Linked DNA regions of Homo sapiens: region 1 is linked to region 2. Evidence: promoter capture Hi-C in 16 types of primary human blood cells and fetal thymus (Javierre and others, 2016). All regions are on one chromosome and are shown on one strand. The core of a region is centred on a gene start or on the middle of the fragment in contact, and the rest is flanking DNA. Distances in the headings are between cores, read along the strand shown. Region 1 overlaps ABCC11 (ATP binding cassette subfamily C member 11). Region 2 holds the start of C16orf87 (chromosome 16 open reading frame 87).

Region 1 (4,772 bases), core at 1,242-3,741, 1.4 Mb before region 2:
ACAAAAGCAGAGCACTTCTGGGAGGAGAATGGAGCTCTGGAAGGCTAATCTCAGAGGTGGGAGTGGGGGTTTTGACTTGGAGACGCAGGAGGTGAGGAGCGGCCCATCGTTCCTTGTAGACTGAATGCAAATTGTGTTGCCATGAAGTGTTTCAACTTTGGCAGGGTGAGACAAAGCTTTTCCCCACCTCTCAGATAAAGCTTGGCAGAACCAGAAAGCAGGAGGGGGAAATTCTACCTGAGGCCTGACACTTTCCCACCCGGCCTCTGGGGGTGGCCCTCGGCCCTCAAGGTGGTCTCTGAGTTTCTTTTGATGGCACATTCCAAGATTCTAGAAATATCCAGTGCCCATGCCTCTAAATGACATTTCGTATTTTAATTTTGAGAAATGTTCAAGTTTCTTTCCATGAAAACGTGTTTTGTGTTTAAAATATTTTCCTTTTTCCAGTCCTTTCATGGCTTTTTAAACTTTAAATTTGTCTTTGTAGTTTTAAAGAATCACAAGTAAAGGATAAATCTTAAAAAGTTCGCTCAACTGCAAGCACAACAGAAAAAAATGAAGCAAAAATGAACAAACAAGAACAACCCCAGATCATTTTGATACTTAGAAGACAATCAGAAACTGAAACCATTTTCCCTTTGTCGCCACCATTGGTCCCTAATCCAAAGTAATGCTGGGCTTCCACAGATGCATCTTCCTCACCCACAGTGGAGCTGACGTCCACTCCTGTGTCCCCTCCACAACCCTGCCATGCCCCGCACCTGCAAGGTGTGCTCAGAGTCCTTGAAGGGGTGACCCTTTTGCCCTTTGATTCCTCTGAGTGATCATGACAATTCTGATTGCTTTAGCTCAAGTATTTAATAAAACATTCTGGAAATAAAATTGAAGGGATTTTAGAGGCAGAAAAAGCAAGGAGGCTTTAAATCTGCTCCTCCAACCCTCACTACCCCACCAGCTAGAAAGCAAACATACATGAGAGCTACGCTTGGTCAGCAGTATCCATGCATTTGCGATGAGAGCAGCTACAGAGAACACTTCATGGCTCAAATAATTACATTTAGTAACCGTCAAAATGTCCTTCCCTCCTCTTTCTTTGAGTTTGGCTTTAATAAATGCCATTGGCTTCTATTCATTTCTACTTCTTGCATTATAGCTTGAGAAGTACATGGGGAAATGTAGGTGGTCATTTGGTCAGTGCCATGAACCTTTAAGAAATTGCCTTCTGTGAAGAGTGACTGTGCCAGGCTTGGGGAAGCCTCAGAAGGCCTAATTGGATCATGGTTTTGCCATTAACCACTTGCGTAATGAGTAAGTTACAGAGCCACTTCCTCTTCTGCAATCTTCAGTTTCCTCATCTGCAAAACAAGGACACCAAACTAAATGCTTTTGTTAGAGCCTACCTTGTGGTTTGACATGTCCTTTGATCTCCGAAAGGCCTCATGGCCACTGGCTGTTAGAGATCAACTTGCAGGTGCCACCCTCAAGAAGGGGGCAGTTAAGGCTAAATTTGATCCAAGGGTCCAAATCGTGTGCAACCCAGTAGGATTGCTGCTCCTAATCTTTGGCAGTCCTGAGTGAAAATGGTCCCATCTGTAGAAAATAATAAGAGCTGGTATTGGTAGAATGCCCTACTGGGGGTGATGGAGGGCAGGTAAACCCCAGACTGGGGCTTAGTCCATGAGGGTTCTTGGCTTTGCCCAGGAAAGAATTCAAGGGCAAGCCAGTGGTAGGGTAGAAGAAAACAGCTTTACTGAAGTGTCACTGTTGCAGTTCTGGCAGTGTTGCAGCTCTGTGACTGACCCTGCAGAGCAGGGCTACCCCGTAGGCAGTGTGCTGAGAGCTGCAGCTCAGGGCAGGTTTGCAGTCATATTTATACCTACTTTTAATTACATGTAGATTAAGGGACAGTTTATACAGAAGTTTCTAGGAAAAGGGTGGCAACTTCCAAGTCATCAAGTCATTGATGACCCAGAAAGAGGCGGTAACTCCTGGGTGTTGCCATGGGAATGGTAAACTGACACGACACACTGGTGGGCCTGTCTTATGGAAAGTGGCTTCCACCCCACCCCTGTTTTAGCTAGTCCTCAATTTGGTCTGGCGTTCAAACCCTGCCTCCAGAGTCAAGTCTCACCTCCTACCTCAGGGGCAGGCACTGCTCTGAGCATTTTTAATGTATTCTCTCTCTCTCTAATAGCTTTACAGGATATAATTCATATACCATACATTCAGCCTTTTAATTATACACTTCAGTGTTTAGTATATTTGAGGAGTTGTGTGATCCTCACTACAACTCTGTGAAGCATCGTTTTCATTCCCATTTCGCTAACGAGGACCTTGAGACTCAGAGGAACTCAGTACTTGCCCGAGGTCAGACAGCAGTAGGTGGAGGAGTCAGGTAGCCGTGGAGCCCATCCATGCTTTTAAATCATTGCTCTACATTGCCTGCCCTGGAGACCCCTGGGATCCGTGGCTCTTTAGAGTCAAGGGTAACAGGCATCTTCATCCAATCTTGAGCAGGGCCTGCAGCTTCTCTCATGGTCTGCGTTGATTTTGTCCCTGCAGGTTTTCCGCTGCCCCATGAGTTTCTTTGACACCATCCCAATAGGCCGGCTTTTGAACTGCTTCGCAGGGGACTTGGAACAGCTGGACCAGCTCTTGCCCATCTTTTCAGAGCAGTTCCTGGTCCTGTCCTTAATGGTGATCGCCGTCCTGTTGATTGTCAGTGTGCTGTCTCCATATATCCTGTTAATGGGAGCCATAATCATGGTTATTTGCTTCATTTATTATATGTGAGTAGGTTCTTTTTGCTTGTGACTTGGGGAGCAAGGCTGGGACCAACCCAGACTAGATGGTCCCAGAGGTGGACGGTCCAGGTCCCTTACCTCCACTGTCCATGCAGGATGTTCAAGAAGGCCATCGGTGTGTTCAAGAGACTGGAGAACTATAGCCGGTCTCCTTTATTCTCCCACATCCTCAATTCTCTGCAAGGCCTGAGCTCCATCCATGTCTATGGAAAAACTGAAGACTTCATCAGCCAGTGAGTCCTTCTGCTGCCATTTGAGAATGATGGAACCACAGGGGTGGTGGGGAGCAGGGAAAGAATGGAGCGTCTGGGAGTGGCATCATCTTCAAAAGCATCAGAGAGCACATTGTTCGATGGACGTATTTCTCTGAGCCTCCAGAACCTGCTGAACCATTCTTTCATTTATAAGAATGAAAAATGTAAATGATAGGAAAAATGTTTGTAAACTTTAAAGACCTTGTATATATTGTGTATATATATATGGACATATGTATACATACATTTAATGATAAGGTGCATTACTGTGCAAACACATCTTGCATTATGTTATTTCTTTCACTTCCAAACAAATATCTATCTTTAACAAAATAATGAGGAACAATAGCTTTCTAAATAATAGAACTTCCTTCACTACTCATGCCATAGATTTGCCCCCTAAATGTTGAAACAAACAAGCAAACAAGTCCTGTGATTGTTGTTGAGGTTTAATGGTGTAACACGAACTTATCTGTTTGTAGAGAATAATCAAGCACGGTCTTCACCTACAAGAAGTTCATAGTCTGGTGGAAAAAGGGAGAAACAGGCACATGTTTTTGTAATTATACGTGATTGAAGAAGGTAGATAGCATAAGAGAGGGGCAGATAAACTGCTTGGGAATTCAGAGGGGAAGGAGGTGGCCTGGGGGAATCAGATAAGGCTTTCGGGAGGAGGTGGCATCTGAGCTGGCCTTGAAGCCTGGGTAAGACTTGGGCACACATTTGGGAGACGGTATGTGCTCAGTTAGCTGGAATATTGGATTAATTGTGGCACCTGCTCTCTCAGTGGCATTATAGACCACTCAAGGTCTGTGCAGACTCTAGGACTGAGGGGATCCTGGAGCGGTGCATTCATTCAGCCCACACTGAGAACCCTGCCCCAAGGTATATACTAAGATAAGCAGATGAAGAGAGTCTGGAGGGATTGGAGCTGTTGTTGGGGAAGGTGTCAGAGAAAAGGACCCTGAGATGAAGTGTGGGTTGAGCTATGGAAATATGTGGGTAGGAGCTCTCCAGGCAGAGGGGACAGTAAATGCAAAGACCATGAGATGGGGGAAGTAGGTTTGAAGGATAGCAAGGTGGCTTGAGCACAGGGGCCACAGAGTGACCAGGGTCTGTTGTGTTTAATCTGGGAAGGCCTCAAGGTGGAGGTGACTCAATCAGTATAGAAAGGTAAGGTGGACAGAATTTGGAATGTCTTATGCAAAGGTTCAGAGGGTATGGACAGAGTGAGTCAGAAGGGCCACTCTGCTGGGGTGATAGCCCACTCAGATGGTAAGATGGTTTTAGTTGATGAGTAAATGAATATTTAATTTCAATAATCAAAGGTTTATTTGAATGTACTTTAGAAAAAATGCAACTAACATATCAAACCCATTATTTATATAATTTAAGGTTGTGATTAAAGTTTCTTTTAATATACATTCTCAAACAAAGCAAGTAAAATAATAATACTAATCAAATAACAGTACAGGTTGTGATTGACATGGAAAACTGTGATGGTGGTATGTGAAAATTGGAAATTGGTAGGTTTCTTGGTTGGAAGTGACAGAAAAAACTAATGCAAACTAGCTTAAAAATATGACTTAAATATGGCAAAATACTAACAATTGCTAAATTAGGTAGAGGGTATACAGATGTTCACGGAATAAACTTTTTAATTTCTTGGTACTTTAAAAAATTTTCATTAGAGGGTATACAGATGTTCATTAAA
Region 2 (5,346 bases), core at 887-3,386:
TTTGTGAAGATGAGGTTTCACTATGTTGCCCAGGTTGGTCTTGAACTCTTGAGCTCAAGCAATCCTCCTGTCTCAGCCTCCCAAAGTGCTGGGATTAATGTTGCAATCTCATGATAAAACTTGAACAGATGAGGAGTTACTTCTTACGAAGGAGCAAAGAAAGTGGTTTTTTGAGATGGAATCTCCTGGGGAAGATTCTGTGAACATAGTGGAATGGCAACAAAGGATTTAGAATATTACATAAATATTAGTTGATAAAGCAGTGGCAGGGTTTGTGAAGATTAACTCCTTTTTTTTTTTTTTTTTTTTTTTGAGACAGGGATTTTCTCTGTCACCCAGGCTGAAGTGCAATGGCGCAATCATGGTTCACTGCAGCCTTGACCTCCTGGGCTCAGTGGATCCTCCAACTCAACCTCTTGAGTAGCTGGGACTACAGGCATACGCTGTCACCACATGGCTATTTTTTAATTTTTTGTGGAGACGGGTTTCACCATTTTGCCCAGGATTTTTAGCCCAATTTTAACATCAACGTGTGTACACTGTTTTTTAGACATAATGCTATTGTACTTTTAATATATTACAGTATAGTGGAAACATGTTTATTATATACACTGGGAAACAACAACAAAAAATTGAGTGTGGCTCTCTTTTTTGCAATGGCCTGGAACTGAACCCCCAGTCCCTCCAAGGTATGCCTGTAAATGGACCAAACAGGAAGCAATTTCGTGGGTTTCATATTAAAAGCTTTAAACATTTATATAACTGTTATTTATACAAAGTGTGCTTACAGGCATTTACTATGTAAAATTGTAACTCATAACTTTGCTTTAGTTAACAATTGTTGAATAAAAAGTTATCAGTGGAATAGCCAGTCTCTGTAATAAATGCATATTGGTAAATTTTCTCTGAGCCAAGTGTACAGTTTGTAAATTTTCTTTCTGTTATGTTTGTTCTGATTGTTTATTAAGTATAACTTTGGGTCTGTCAAATTAAATATTTAAAAGTAAGCTTACGTTTTGCATAGTTGTTTTTAAATTTCACTTTTTCTTTCTTTTTCTTTTTTTTGAGACGGAGTCTCGCTCTGTCGCCCAGGCTGGAGTGCAGTGGCCACAATCTCGGCTCACTGAAGCCTCAATCTCATAGGCTCAAGCGATCCTCCCACCTCAGCCTCTCTACTAGCTAGGACTCCAGGCATGGGCCACCACGCTCAGCTAATTTTTAAAAATCTTTTACTTTTTGTAGAGATGGGGGTCTCGCTATGTTGCCCAGGGTGGTCTGGAACTCCTGGGCTCAAGAGATCCGCCCTCCTCGGCTTCCCAAAGTGCTGGGATTACAGGCGTGAGCCATTGCGCCCAGCCTCGAATAATTTAATTTTAATGTTAATTTAGTAAGTATCAGTCACGGACAGATTGGAAAAAGAAAAACATCTGATCCCTCATCTTGATAGTGAGTAGCACTGGTTTACACAGCTAGGCTGCTCCTTGAAGGCTGACACTGCATTTTATTCAAATTTTCCTGACAGTGGGACTTAGGCAATTATATATTGAATAAATAAATGAATTTTCACTCTGCTGCTGGGTCCAGTGGTCTCATAAAATGTCTATCATAATTTCTCAATGATTAGCCTTGGTAACATCTACTTAAGTTTATTAAATGCCAGGATCCACGCTACGCCCTTCACCATTCATTCCCCAGCCTTCGCTCCCACGGTCTCTGTGGGGATGGGGCGTGCCCAGCACTACGGCCCGCCCTACCTATGCATTCGTTGGTCGAACTCGACGCCCGTTACTGCCGAGTCCCGCCCAGGCCTTGCCCCCTCGTAGTCGGCCAGGCCGAGAGGAGGCGTGGCCACTGCCGCGCCGGGGCGGTCTGGCGGAGGGGGGGGAGGTCTCCCCTCGTCTCGTGATACTCTGGGCGAGCTCGCGGGCGGGCTGTGGGTCGCGAGCCGCCGTGGGAGCGCGTGTCGCGGTCCCCAGGAGCCGCCGGCCGACGCTCCGCCCCGCCCCCTTGGCGCCCAGGTCCCGCGCGAGCTCGCGCACGCGCGCGCGCGCACCCGCCAGAGGCTTGTTTGAGGCCCGCGGGGACTGGGCGGGCGGAGGCCGGGCTGCCGAAGTGTGAGGGGAGGAGCCCGAGCCGTCGCTGCTGCCGCCGCTAAGGGAGAGGAGCATGTCTGCAACTCGAGCCAAGAAAGTGAAGATGGCCACCAAATCATGCCCCGAGTGCGACCAACAGGTGGGTGCCGGGGGCCGGGCGCGCGGGCGGGCGGCAGTGGCTTGGCGGCCGTTGTCTGTGGAGGGGGGCCTCGCCGGGCTCCCGGAGGCCGAGCGGTGGGCAGATCCTGGGGCCCGCCGGCGGCGGCGGGGATCCGGGGCCGGTCGGGCTGCACCGAGGGGTTTCCCGGGAAAAGCCCGGGGCCGTGGCCCGCCAGCGTCCACCTGGCGGCGGCCAGACGGCCAAGCCCCTTCTTGCTGTGTCCCGGCCACTGGAGGAGCGCGCCTTTGGTGGGCTCACCGGGCGGCTGTCTGGAGCCCCAGACTCTCCTCGCCGGCGGCGGTGACAGCGGTGGGAGCCTGCGGGCCGCAGCCCCGGCGAGAGTGTGCCGCACGCCCGCCTCCGAGGCCAGGCCCTAGCTCCGAGAACCCCTCCTGCGGCCGGGGCGGCTTTGTTCCCGGTTCCGACGGGTGCGGGGCTTCCCCAAAACGGCCCCTCCGCGACCGGGGCGGGCGCCTGAGTGGGACAAAGGGGGCCGCGTGTAATGATTTTGAGTTTCGGCGAATTTGGAGATTTTTTCCCCTTCCTCATCTATTTATTATATTTTTGCTGTGCAATCGCGAATCCTGCCTTTACATCGTTTTTAATGGGTCATGATTGAATAAAGCCCCTGTTTAAGCCCTTCCTCCTTTTTGGGCGCTCCTAACTTCCCCACCCCTCGCAGTATCCACTGTTACAAATTTGGCCTGTCTGCTTCCAGATCTGTATCCCTGTCTGTCTGAATGTCTCTGTGTGTCTCTCTCTCTCTCTCTCTCTCTCTCTCTCTCTCTCTCTCTGTCTGTCTCTCTCTATCTCTCTATCTCTCTATCTCGTTTCTTGAATTTGAAACGATTCCTTTCTACATTGAGTTCATGGTGTAATAGTTGTAATTTAAAACATCTCATTTCAGTGATCGCTGTGTTGAAGCGTGTCTCAATTCTTTACTGGAATAATAGACATTCCTTTAAGCCTTAACATCTAATGAGTTAAAACTACTTCAGTTAAAACCATTCGTAAGGCCCTCGTTTGTTACCAACATGTAGATCTGGGTGTGTTTTTTCCTTTTCCACTGAGTGGATTTTTTCAAAATGACTACCTTTCTCTCCTCCCCTCCCCCCACCGCCTTTTTTTTTTTTTAAATCAAGAGTAATTTGAAATGGCTGGAGACTTTTTAATAAGCTGATTTTAGTGCATTTTTCAAGGAGAATTCTTGTAGGTTTTTCAAATCTTTTAACAGAAAACATGTTACATGTTTTATTAAGTATCCTTTATGGGCTGTAGTAAAAATGCTTATCAGAAAAAGGTTGTGCAAGAAATACAGTGTAGGAGCTATACCAGTATGCAGTATAAAAACAGTTTAGTCATGTTTTCCAAAGAGTTACTTTCATTCTTACTACTGAACTAAATTTGTTAAATTTTGACAAAACTGGACTTTGCAATATGACTCTTTGCGGGAGATTATTTCAGTGTTTAAATCATTTCCAATTATTCCAGTTAATTGTGTAGAAGTGTAAGGTTTACATGGTATGCGTTATGCATTCCAATTTCTGTAAGGCACAAGTATTTGCAAATCCTGACTTTGTTCTAATTGGCATAAAGCAACCTTTTGGGAAAAATAGCCACTTTTTATGGCTATTTTTATATAAAAGAGCAAAGGATAATAAACTTATAGGAGTTTCTGAAAAACTGTTCAACAAAACAAGATCAGCGTTTTATTTGGAAAGATCACATTCATTTTGTTATACACCCCCTCCCCCATATTTATTCTTTCATATAAAATCAGCTTACCCAGCTTTGGCTGCCATAACAAAAGCATGATTATGTTCTGGTGAGGGCTCTCTTCTTGGCTTGCAGATGGCTGTCTTCTTGGTGTCCTCACATGGCAGAAAGAGGGTCAAGCTCTCTCCCTTTTCTTAAAAGGTCCCTAATCACATCATGAGGGCCCCACCCTCATGACTTAATTTAAACCTAATTCTCTCTCAAATGGCCCATCTCCAAATACCATCACATTGCGGTTAAGGCTTCAATATATGAATTTGGATGTCGAGGGGTGCATAATTCCACCCAGAGCAAACTAGTACATAATTTAATGAGTTGGTTTGTTTTGTCCTTTATTCCAAATACTTAAGTGAATGTAACATACATAAGGACTAATTAAAACTTTTGGTGATATGAACCTGATGTGAAAAAATAATGGATGAATTTTAGCTTTCTCATTATTTAAAAGTACTAGCTTCTTTTAGTTATAAGCCAGAATATGATTATAATCCAGAAAGCCATTTTCTAAACATTAGAATACTGCTATGATTCTAAGTTGCCTAAAAAAAATTAAATTCGAATTTAGGTATAGTTTATAAACATAAATGTAAAATCTTTAAATTTGAGATTTCCCAGTTGACTAGATTTACTTATGTGGGTGTGTAAGTTTGAAAAATGGGTACAGAGATCAGCAAAGAAGAAAAAGCTAGATTTTCAACTGCTTTGTAACATCTCCTTTGCAGGCTTCTATTGAACATATCATTCTAAAACATCTTAAACCACAGTCCTTTTCATTTTCAAGGGGTTTCATATCCATCAATCACTCAAAATTACTGAGCCATTTTGTGTGCATCAGTGCTCAAGATTCTTGTCAGTTTTCTGGTATCTTTTGTGTATGCTTCTGTTTTTGCCTTCATTTTTAAAAAAAATAGAGCAGCTTTTTTTTAATTTAAAGGACATTTTATGTGATGTATATAAAATATGTCTGGTATAAGTTCCTTTGGTTCTTTCAGTAGTAAAGAATATAAATGAGTTTTCTGTAATGTAATTATTTTGGAGCTTTTAAAAAATCAGTTAAATGGCTGTGTGCAGTGGCTCACACCTGTAATCCCAGTACTTTGGGAGGCCGAGGCAGGTGGATCACGAGGTCAGAAGTTCCAGACCATCCTGGCTAACACGGTGAAACCCTGTCTCTACTAAAAAATTAGCTGGGTGTGGTGGCATGCACCTCTGTAGTTCCAGCTACTCGGGAGGCTGAGGCAGGAGAAGTGATTGAACCCGGGAGGCAGAGGTTGCAGTGAGCCGAGATCGCACCACTGTACTCCAGCCTGGGCGACA

Evidence for each region. The method cuts DNA at HindIII sites, captures the fragments that hold promoters and counts their contacts. A CHiCAGO score of 5 or more calls a contact.
Region 1: a contact is called between a fragment that was not itself captured here and the fragment with the promoter of C16orf87 in region 2, in 1 of 17 cell types (M0 macrophages). The highest score is 7.2, in M0 macrophages.

What each region holds. Positions count from the first base shown.
Region 1 is chr16:48,185,218-48,189,989 of GRCh38, reverse strand. It overlaps ABCC11 (ATP binding cassette subfamily C member 11), which reads left to right. Exons shown (of 30, transcript NM_001370497.1): 21 at 2,563-2,789; 22 at 2,900-3,037. Among named protein-coding and RNA genes, the nearest start is that of ABCC12, 32 kb to the right of the region's middle. RefSeq lists a silencer at 1,258-1,552. The HindIII fragment of the contact is 4,577 bases long and covers 203-4,772 here.
Region 2 is chr16:46,827,970-46,833,315 of GRCh38, reverse strand. C16orf87 (chromosome 16 open reading frame 87) reads left to right here and starts at 2,136. Exons shown (of 4, transcript NM_001001436.4): 1 at 2,136-2,232. The coding sequence starts at 2,167. RefSeq lists a silencer at 1,790-2,439. The HindIII fragment of the contact is 5,874 bases long and covers 1,011-5,346 here.